Linked DNA regions of Homo sapiens: regions 1 and 2 are each linked to region 3. Evidence: promoter capture Hi-C in 16 types of primary human blood cells and fetal thymus (Javierre and others, 2016). All regions are on one chromosome and are shown on one strand. Each heading gives the region's core, a stretch centred on a gene start or on the middle of the fragment in contact. The rest is flanking DNA. Distances are from core to core; before and after follow the strand shown.

Region 1 (3,315 bases), core at 368-2,867, 89 kb after region 3:
ATCTCAGCACTTTGGGAGGTTGCAGTGGGTGGATCATGAGGTCAGGAGTTTGAGACCAGCCTGGCCAACATGGTGAAACCCTGTCTCTACTAAAAATACAAAAAATTAGCCGGGCGTGGTGGTGCACACCTGTAATCCCAGCTACTCGGGAGGCTGAGGCAGGAGAATCACTTGAACCTGGGAGGTGGAGGTTGCAGTGAGCCGAGATCGTGCCACAGCACTCCAGCCTGGGCAACAGAGCAAGACTCTGTCTCAAGAAAAAAAAATTGAAAACATACATATTAGGGCCAAATTGCAGGGTTTGTGTATGAATCCCTAATAAGCCAAATAAATTTTGCTTACTTTTAGCTCTGCACTCAGGTCTTAAGTATTGGGGGTAATTCAGTACTCTTGTCATACCTAAAGAAAGGATGTTTCTGCTGGCACAGGCCCATGCCTATAGTCCCAGCTACCCAGGAGGCTGAGGCAGGAATATCCCTTGAGCCCAAGAGTTCAAGTCCAGCCTGGACAATATAGCAAGATCCCATCACTAAAACAGTGTTTCAATCAGAGGGAAGAGAATCTTCAGCACGAGAGGGGAAAAGGGAGAAAGAAGGGCAAATTTGGTTTGTGACTGGTCAAATAATGCCCACTGAGGACAGGAAGCAGATGCACTCTACTTCCTGCTAGGGAACTCTGCCCTTGCCTCCATCTACTGGCATGTTTGCATGGCTGACTTCATTCCATTTACATCTCTGATAAGGAGAGATACCTTTATGGTCTGTTATCTTCAATGTATTAAAGAGTCTATTATCATAGTCACAAGATAGCTGCCGCAGTTCCAAACATCATGTTCTCATATGAAATGTTTCAAATAGAAAAGAGAGTATGAGCCAAAAAAAGCTTTCTTTCTTTTTTTTTTTTTTTGTAAAGATGGGGTCTCCTCATGTTGCTCCTGCTGGTCTTGAACACCTGGCCTCAAGCGATCCTCCCACATCGGCTTTCCAAAGTGCTGAGATTACAGGTATGAGCCACTGCACCTGGCCAAAAGCTTTCTCCTTGAGGCCTCTCTCTTCTTTTTTCTCTCTCTTTCTTTCTCTCTCTCTCTGTCCCTTTATTTTTTATTTTTTATTTTTTTTGAGACAGAGTCTCACTCTGTTGCCCAGGTTGGAGTGCAATGGCATGATTATGGCTCAATGCAGCCTTGACTTCTTGGGCCCAAGTGATTCTTCCACCTCAGCCTCCCAAGAAGCTGGAATCACAGGCATGCACCACCACACCTGGCTATTTGTTGTTGTTGTTGTTTTGTTAGACTCTCTCATAAGGGCAAAAAATGTTTCCCATATGATGTTGCAGACTTCCCTTTATTTCTTACTGCCCAGAACTATGTCATATGACTACCTTTAGCTTCAAGGGAGGCTTAGGGAAGTATGTACAGAGAAAACAAGCATGTTTTTTTAATGGTGCACTAAAAATAACAGGACTTGTGGGAAATATAGGGTTAGAAGCAGGTCACTCAAAACCTTTGCAACTTTGTTAGTTGAGGGCTATAAAAATTACTATGCTAATAAAAAATACACAATTAAATTCCCTCTGACACTTGTACTCAATATCACAGTCATCCTTTAGGGCCATGCTGTCCAATACAGTAGTAACTAGCCATCTGTGTTTATTGAACACTTAGATGTGATAGTCCAAATTGAGAAGGGCTGTTAAGTATAAAATATACACATAAGATTTTAAGAATTTAGTATAAAAAATAATGTAAAAATCTCAATAAATTTTATATTGATTACATGTTGAAATGTCACTTCAACATTTCTTTTTACTTTTACTTTTTAAAAATGTGGCTCCCAGAAAACCTAAATTGTCGAATGTTTCTGTTGGACAGTGCTGCTTTAGTTTCTTGAATCCTGGGGCACATGATTCTTCCTTGGATGTATATGCCCTTGAGGGTATTAATTCCAATTAAGAGCAGTTTCATCAAAATTAAAAATCCGATCGAGGATTTTGTCTTTTTTATCAATCAGTTTTCCCCCAATGGGGTAAAATGGTTTTGCACCTTCATTTACACTTTGCAGTTTACCACAGAACTTAATGTTGTAAAAAACTCTTGAAGCCACCAAACAAGCCTCTGTTTGCACCAAAGGAAGGCATTCTTGCAGAATTTTCTGCTTTTTTTCTTAACATCTTTATATGTTGCTAAGGTTTTCTCTTTAATTGTGAGAAGCTTGTCCCTGCTTGCCCCAAAATGTTAGTGTGCTGGGAAAAATAATGAATGAAGCAATGTAATTTCTGAATTATATTAACATTATCTCCCCATTTGTTGCTTGCCCATTAGCTAATAATGACTATATCTGGCATATAAAGCTTTTATTGTGGGAGATAGGACTGCCAGTAGACAAAAGGGAGAGAAAATCCTAATCCTATAATTTCAAAGAGTTGGTACCCAATTATGGGATATTTTGGACAGTGTCCTTTCTATTCACCAAGTTAACATTTAGTTAATCGCCCCATTTGATTTACTCAATTACCCCTTTCTCCCAGCTAAAATCCATTGAGTTCTAAAGAACCATTTCAAAGGCCAGGCCAGGTGGCTCATGCCTGTAATTCCAGCACTGTGGGAGGCCAAGGCAGGAGGTTTGCTTGACTCCAGGAGTTTGAGAGCAGCCTGAGCAACATGGCGAAATCCTGGCTCTACAAAATATGAAAACTTTAGCTGGGTGTGGTGGTGCGTGCCTGTCATCCTAGCTGCTTGGGAGCCTGAGGTGGCAGAATTGCTTGAGCCTGAAGAGGTCATGGCATAATCATGGCATTGCACTCCAGCCTGGTGACAGAGTGAGACCCTGTCTCAAAAAAAAAAAAAAAAAAAAAGAATGGACAAAGGCTGTCTCTTCAGTAAATCTTTTCCTGATCTCTCCTATAAGCATTTTGCTTGCATCATCTTTTTATAGAACACATATTTGGCCTTATGTTTATGTTATTGTCTGATTTTTATATGTAGAATAATATTTTTAATTTGCATATGTAGAATAAAGCTCCTCCCACTGAAGACAGTGATTGTATTTTATTCACTTTTCAAAATTCCTCTGATGACTAGCCTTATGGTTTGTACAAATTAGGCACAACTAAATATTTGTTGAATTTAATTGTGCTGTATCCTAAAATAATAGAATACTAATAGAATAGAATAGAATAAATAATATAATATTTCTAAAATATTAATAGAATCTTATTCTATTAGGAATAGAATAACAGATTAGATAGAATATTTCTAAAATTCTAAATACAAGTTGGTATTTGACTCACATCTCTAGTGCTTTAAAAAAGTGCAAC
Region 2 (3,132 bases), core at 128-2,627, 120 kb before region 3:
GCAATCTCTGTATTTCCCCAGTCCATTCACTTTTTCTCTTTCCCATATGCCATTCTGTTTCCCTTTTTCTTCAAACTCCCTATATGTCCCCACTCATCTTCACTCACAGCTGAAGAATGACCTTGCTTCCTACTACAATGGAAAAACTGAAACAGTCAGAGGCAAATTTTGATAGACTTCCATCACCACATTTACCCATCTCTCAGCAAATGCGCCCAGATATAATGCCTTCCCACCTGCTGTTTTGGGCGAACTGTCCATACTCGTAAGGCCAATCCCTCCGCTTGCTAAATAAATCCATCCCCTCTTGCTCAAGAACATAGCTTTGTGATTCTCCTTTCTCCTACATCAATTTTCCACTGTACAGGATCATTCTTCCTACCTGCAATCAAACAAACCATTATTTCTCCCACCTTAAAAATATCTCCTCTCAGCTTCGCGTCTCCCTCCAGCCATTACCCCATATCTTTGAAATTCCTTGAAAGAACCCCTTCTACTTGATATCTCCAGCTCCACTCCTCCTGTTATCTCCTGAACCCACTCCATTCAGGCTTTCACCCCCAACACTCTACCAAAACTGCTCAATGATCACCAGCGATAGTCATGTTGCTAAATCCAATGACCAATTCTCAGTCTTCATCTTTCTTGACCTAAAGTACTACTTGGCACACTCGACTGCTCCTTCCTCCTGGAAAACACGTTGTTTATTTGCCTCCCTGATTACTTGATTTCCTTCCTTCCTCAATATTTACTTCTCAATATTCTTTGTTGGGTCATTCTCAACTCCCCAGACTTTCAGGGTGGGAGTGCTCACGGCTCAATCCTTTTCTCATCTATATTTTGCCTCTTAGTAATTATCTGATCATCTCTTATGACATCAAGTACTGTCTGTATGTTAATGACTCCCACCTTTATACCTCCTCCTTCAGGGATCCCCCTGCCCCATTCATACATCCATCTGTCTACTCAACATCTCCACTTGGAAGTATAACAGGCATTTCGAACTCAGCGTGTCCAGAACTGACTCCTGCCCTTCCTACAGACTCCATCTCAGTTAATGGCAACTGCATCTCCGAGTCTCCTTGACACCTCTCTTTTTCACACACCCCTACCATCCAATCCTATTGGCTATACCTTCAATATAGAGCCCAAATCTCACCATTACTGCCACCTTGACTTCAACACATTACCATGGAGCCTCCTAACCGGCCTTCCTGCTTCCATCCAGTAGGAAATTCAGGCTATTTTCAACACAGAAGCTAAAGTGATCCTAACAATGTAAGTCAGATTATGTTGCTCCTCTGCTTGGAACCTTCCAATGACTCCCTCTGAACTCTTTTTCTCAGAGTAAAAGCTCCCGTCTTTCCAAGTCCTATGCAGAAATCTTGTATTGTCTGGATCTGCTCCTGTTACCTCTCTGACGACACTCTCCCATGCTCACTCTGCTCCAGCCACACTGGCCTCGCTCTTCCTTTAGCATACCACATGTGCTTTGCCTTGGTGGCTTCTTCTGCCTGTACTGCTCTTCCTCCAGATATTCAAATGGCTTACTCTTTGACCTCCTTTGAGTGTTTGTTCAAATGCCTCTATCTCAATTAGGCCACTTTGATCACCCATTTAATTACAACCCACACCTCACAGGTAATCCCCAGCCCTCTTACCCTGTTTTCTTCATAGCACTCATACTGTACTATACTATGTAATTTACCTATTTATTATGCTTCCTATCAAGTTTCTTTCTCCTAGGATGTAAGCTAATGAAAGCAGAGATTATTGTCTCATTTCCTGGTGTACCCCCAGCACCTAGAACACTGTTTGGCACATGGTAGAGGCTCAATAAACATTTGTTGGGCGAATACATGAACGAACCCTTATCCCTGAAGCTGACTAAAATCAGTATCTAGTAACTGGTTTATTAGCATCTTCTAATGAGAAACCTTCATATATGTTCCTTGCACATTTTCATTTTACAAGTCACTGTAAAATATCATTAACTTACATTCATTTCATAATTTAAAAAAGACTGTTTTTCCTGGGTTGAAAATTTTAGATTCTCAAATTCATTAACAGAAGGTTTTCTGAGTAAATTAACAGAAGGTGTGTTTACTTAATGTTTAAGGACATGTACATTTCATACAAGTTGCATGGGTTACAAATTAGGATATAACTATTTATTTTGAAAAATAATCACCAAGGGCTTACTATGCATCAAGGTATTCTGGGGCATAAAAAAGCAAGTGTTCTCACTGAGGGATGAATAGTCTACTAGCAACTGTAAGACAGTTGCACGAATAATGATGATACAAAGAGGTATCCGATGAATATAATGTAGCAGGATAAACAAAATGGCAGTGGAAAACAGGAGTAAAACCAAAGGGAAGGATTCTGAGAAGACTATTTATAATGGGAACTAAAATTGTCAGCTGAAGCTCAGATGGCGGTAGAGGCATTCCAGATGGAGTATAGAAAATGAATGAAGACCAAGGACAGGACAGAAATATCTGGGGTGCACTCACTAGGTGAGTGTGTCCAGACATTGAAAGAGGATGAGCAGAGGAAGAGAACAGGAGAGGTAAGAACTAAAAAGGTGGTATTAGGTCCTGGAAGGTCTTAAATATCAAGCTAAAGAGTTTTACTGCCAAGCTACAGAACTTTATCAAATGCCATACTGAGAAGACTGATCGATTTATTAAAGCAAACTCCTAAAGGATCTCTTCTTGGAAACAATTCATTAGTGGTTAGTGTGGAATCTCAGTGTGGCACGGAATAAAGTAAAGTACATGGGTAACGGCCCCAGAAAAACCAGAGCACAGCCCAGCGCATTACCACTCATCGCCTGGGTGATCTTGGGAAGGTTACCTAACCTCCGGTAGCTTTAATTTCCTCACCTGTAAAATAAGGCTAATGATGTGTATTTTGTAAAGCCAGTATGAGGATAATAAAGTGCCTGACACATAATATAGGGTCCCCTGAAATGTTAGTTCTCTTATTTTATCTTGTTGTAAAAATTGCTTGTAAATTGTATGGTATATGAATTATATCTCAGTAAAGCCATTACAAAAAAAAAAAAAAAAAAAAGCCCATGATGTATATTTTTCACTAATCCAAACTGTCTTTTCTCCTAATTGGTGT
Region 3 (3,343 bases), core at 718-3,217:
CAGTTATTTTTAAAATAACTTTATTGAGATATAATCCACTCATTTAAAGTGGTTTAACTACAGTTAAACTACAATTTAGTGGTTTTTAATATATTCACAGGATGTGCAACCATCACCAAAATCAATTTTAGATAATTTTCTTTTCTTCTTTTTTTTTTTTTTTTTTTTTGAGTCGGAGTTTCGCTCTTGTTGCTCAGGCTGGAGTGCAATGGCACGGTCTCAACTCACTGCAACCTCCGCCTCCTGGGTTTAAGCCATTCTCCTGCCTCAGCCTCCCACGTAGCTGGGATTACAGGTATGCTCTCCCAGGCCTGGCCAACTTTGTATTTTTAGTAGAGATGGGTTTCTCCATGTTGGTCAGGCTGGTCTCGAACTCCTGACCTCAGGTGATCAGCCCACCTCGGCCTCCCAAAGTGCTGGGATTACAGGCGTGAGCCACCATGCCCGGCTGAATTTTAGATCATTTTCATCACCTCAAAAAGAAACCCAGTACTCATTAACCGTCACTCTCCTTTCCAGGATCCCTCCATCCCTGCCATTCTTCAACCCTAGCCCTTGGCAACCACTAATGGATTTTTTGGTCTATTTAGATGTGCCTGTTCCAGACACTTCATTATAAATGGAATCATACAATATGTGGCCTATTGTGTCTGGCTTTTTTCACTTCACATAAAGTTTTCAAGGTTCAGACATATTGAAGTGTGTATATCCCTTCATTTTTTTTCATTGCTGAATAATATTTCTTTCCTTTTTTTTTGAGACAGAGTCTTGCTCTGTTGCCCAGGCTGGAGTGCCGTGATCACAGCTCACTTCAGCCTCCAACTCCAGGGCTCAAACGATCCTCCCACCTGGGCCTCCCGAGTGGCTAGGACTACAAGCACCACCACCACACCCAAGTAATTTTTAAATTTTTTGTAACACACCCAACTAATTTTTAATTTTTTTTGTAGAGACTGCATCTTACTATATGGGTCTTCTTCCTTCTTCTTTCTTCTTCCTTCTTCTCCTTCTTCTTCCTTCATCGTTCTTCTTCCTTCTTTCATTCTTCTTCTTCTTTTTTTTTTTTTTAAATACAGTGTCTGGCTCTGTCGCCCAGGCTGGAGTGCAGTGGTACAATCTTGGCTTATTGCAGCCTCTGCCTCCCAGGCCCAAGTGATCCTCTCATGTCAGCCTCCCCAGTAACTGGGATTACAGGCATGTGCCACCACACTCGACTAATTTTTGTATTTTTTTGTAGAGACAGGTTTTGCTATGTTGCCCAGGCTGGTCTCGAACTCTTGGGCTAAAGCAATCCTCCCGCCTCGGCCTCCCAACGTGCTGGGATTACAGGCGTGACCCACCACCCCTGGCCAGTATTTCTTAATTTGTATAGTCCACACTGGTTTATCCATTCATCCAGTAAAGGACATTTGCGTTGTTTCCACTTTTTGACTATTATGAATAATGCTGCTAGGAAAGAACATTTATATACAAGTTTTTGTGTAGTCACTCGTTTTAATTTCTCTTGGGTATGGGAGTGGCCAATATTCTGAAGAACTGCCAAATTTCTTCCCAAAGTAGCTGCACTATTTTACATACTTAGTTTTTGTTTTTCGTTTTTTTTTAAATAAAGAACCTTTAGGGTTTCCTCAGCGTCCCAGAGGAGGGCCTGCTTCCGGCACCCCGCCTTCAGGGCTGCCTCCGCAGAGCACCAAACTCCCGTCCCCGCCATTCCAGGCCCTGGCACTTAGGAGCCAAAACCTCAGGTCAGGCGCACTTTGGGCCTCCAGCCCAGCCCCGCCTCCTCAGCGCTAGCTAGTAGGCAAAAGGAAAACAGCTGCCCCTTAATGAGGCTATGTGGACATCGTAGTTTTTTTTCCAGTCAGTAGCGCAGAGACTGTGATAAGAAAAATCACAATTCCCAGAATGCCGCGGTGCTACGGCAGCCGAAGGGGCCATTCCGTGTGCAGCGCTCCCGCCCACCCTCCGGTCTCGGCGGCTCTCCAGAGCGTCTGTAAACACCCAGAGACTGTCATGGAGGGGGAGGAGGAGGCGGCGGCGGCGAAGGGAGGCGTTTGGGGCCGCCTCCAGGGTCCGCTCTGCCATTCCTGAACTGGTCCCTCGTCCCCGTGACTCTGGCATCAGGGAAGCGAACTGTTAGGCGAGAGGAGGAGGCAGCCAGAACCATATCCCCTTCTTCCTCGGGGCGGGGGCCGGGCCAGGCCGGCTGAGCCGGGGGAGGGCTCCGGGAGGGAGTGCCTGGCCAGGCCGGCCTGTCTGCCGCGATGGATGACAGTAAGGTAAGTCTTGTGGTTTGCACGCGCCGCCGCCTTCTTGTCGCTCAATGCTAGTCCCGCGGCTGAACCTCCGCTATGTAGTCCACGCCAACACCCAAGAGACACCTGCCTAAAACATCCCTGCGCCTCTCCAGTCCACTGCCCGATGGTACCCAGCCAGGAAATCAGGGAACACCGGGGCTGCGTTTTTCCAGGAAGGGCCCTCTCTGGAAATTTTTCACTCCCAGGGCGTTTGCTAGCTTTCCAGGTAGTGCAACCCCTAGTCCTTAACTTGCCTGTCGAGATAAGAAACTACTGTACTTTTTCTTCTTGCACTTTTTTGCTGCCTCCTCTCTCCAGTTTGGAGACTTTAGTGCACGCTGAACCAGCCTTATTCCCCTTGACGATTCCCCTTCTCTCAGGCTCCCTTACTCAATGCCCCATTCATATAATCAGTTCACTCCCCCTCTGAGCTATTTCCTGTGGTTGGTTGGAACACCGCTAAGCTCCTGTTGCTATTTGGCCAGTGTGGAGTTTAACCTCCACTAGAAAGCCTTCTCTAAAAAAATACTGATTTTCCTCTTGTTAACTTTAATAGCCCATCACCATCCAATTTCCCTGTCCAAATCACTTACTTTATGATTATAAAATAATAGATAATGTTCATTATTGGTTAATCCAAATAGTTTATCTATGTATAGCCTTTTTGTCTTTATTTATTAATTGAGACGGAGTTTCGCTCTTGTCGCCCAGGCTGGAGTGCAATGGCGCGATCTCGGCTCACCACAACCTCCGCCTCCCGGGTTCAAGCGATTCTCCTGCCTCAGCCTCCCGAGCAGCTGGGATTACAGGCATGCACCACCATGCCCGGCTAATTTTGTATTTTTGGTAGAGATGGGGTTTCTCCATGTTGGTCAGGCTGGTCTCGAACTCCCAATCTTAGGTGTCCGCTCGCCTCGGCCTCCCAAAGTGCTGGGATTACAGGCGTGAGCCACCGCGCCTGGCCGCCTTTCTCTCTTTACATCTACCCACATTAGTGTTGTTTAGTTTTATTTCCTGAAGATAGGGATGGTCAAAGATTTGTTTAT

The links. The method cuts DNA at HindIII sites, captures the fragments that hold promoters and counts their contacts. A CHiCAGO score of 5 or more calls a contact.
Region 1: a fragment that was not itself captured here is called in contact with the fragment with the promoter of CREBL2 in region 3 in 1 of 17 cell types (total CD8 T cells); the score reaches 5.3 in total CD8 T cells.
Region 2: a fragment that was not itself captured here is called in contact with the fragment with the promoter of CREBL2 in region 3 in 2 of 17 cell types (naive CD8 T cells and non-activated CD4 T cells); the score reaches 6.6 in naive CD8 T cells.

The regions. Positions count from the first base shown.
Region 1 is chr12:12,699,088-12,702,402 of GRCh38, forward strand. It overlaps a transcript of GPR19 not described here. Among named protein-coding and RNA genes, the nearest start is that of GPR19, 4.6 kb to the left of the region's middle. The HindIII fragment of the contact is 1,179 bases long and covers 1,029-2,207 here.
Region 2 is chr12:12,492,179-12,495,310 of GRCh38, forward strand. The region is part of intron 4 of DUSP16 (dual specificity phosphatase 16); the gene reads right to left. Among named protein-coding and RNA genes, the nearest start is that of DUSP16, 69 kb to the right of the region's middle. The HindIII fragment of the contact is 3,950 bases long and covers 1-3,132 here.
Region 3 is chr12:12,609,909-12,613,251 of GRCh38, forward strand. It overlaps CREBL2 (cAMP responsive element binding protein like 2), which reads left to right and starts at 1,968. Exons shown (of 4, transcript NM_001310.4): 1 at 1,968-2,279. The coding sequence starts at 2,265. RefSeq lists enhancers at 1,337-2,088, 1,682-1,761, 1,812-1,861 and a silencer at 2,022-2,321. The HindIII fragment of the contact is 19,687 bases long and covers 1-3,343 here.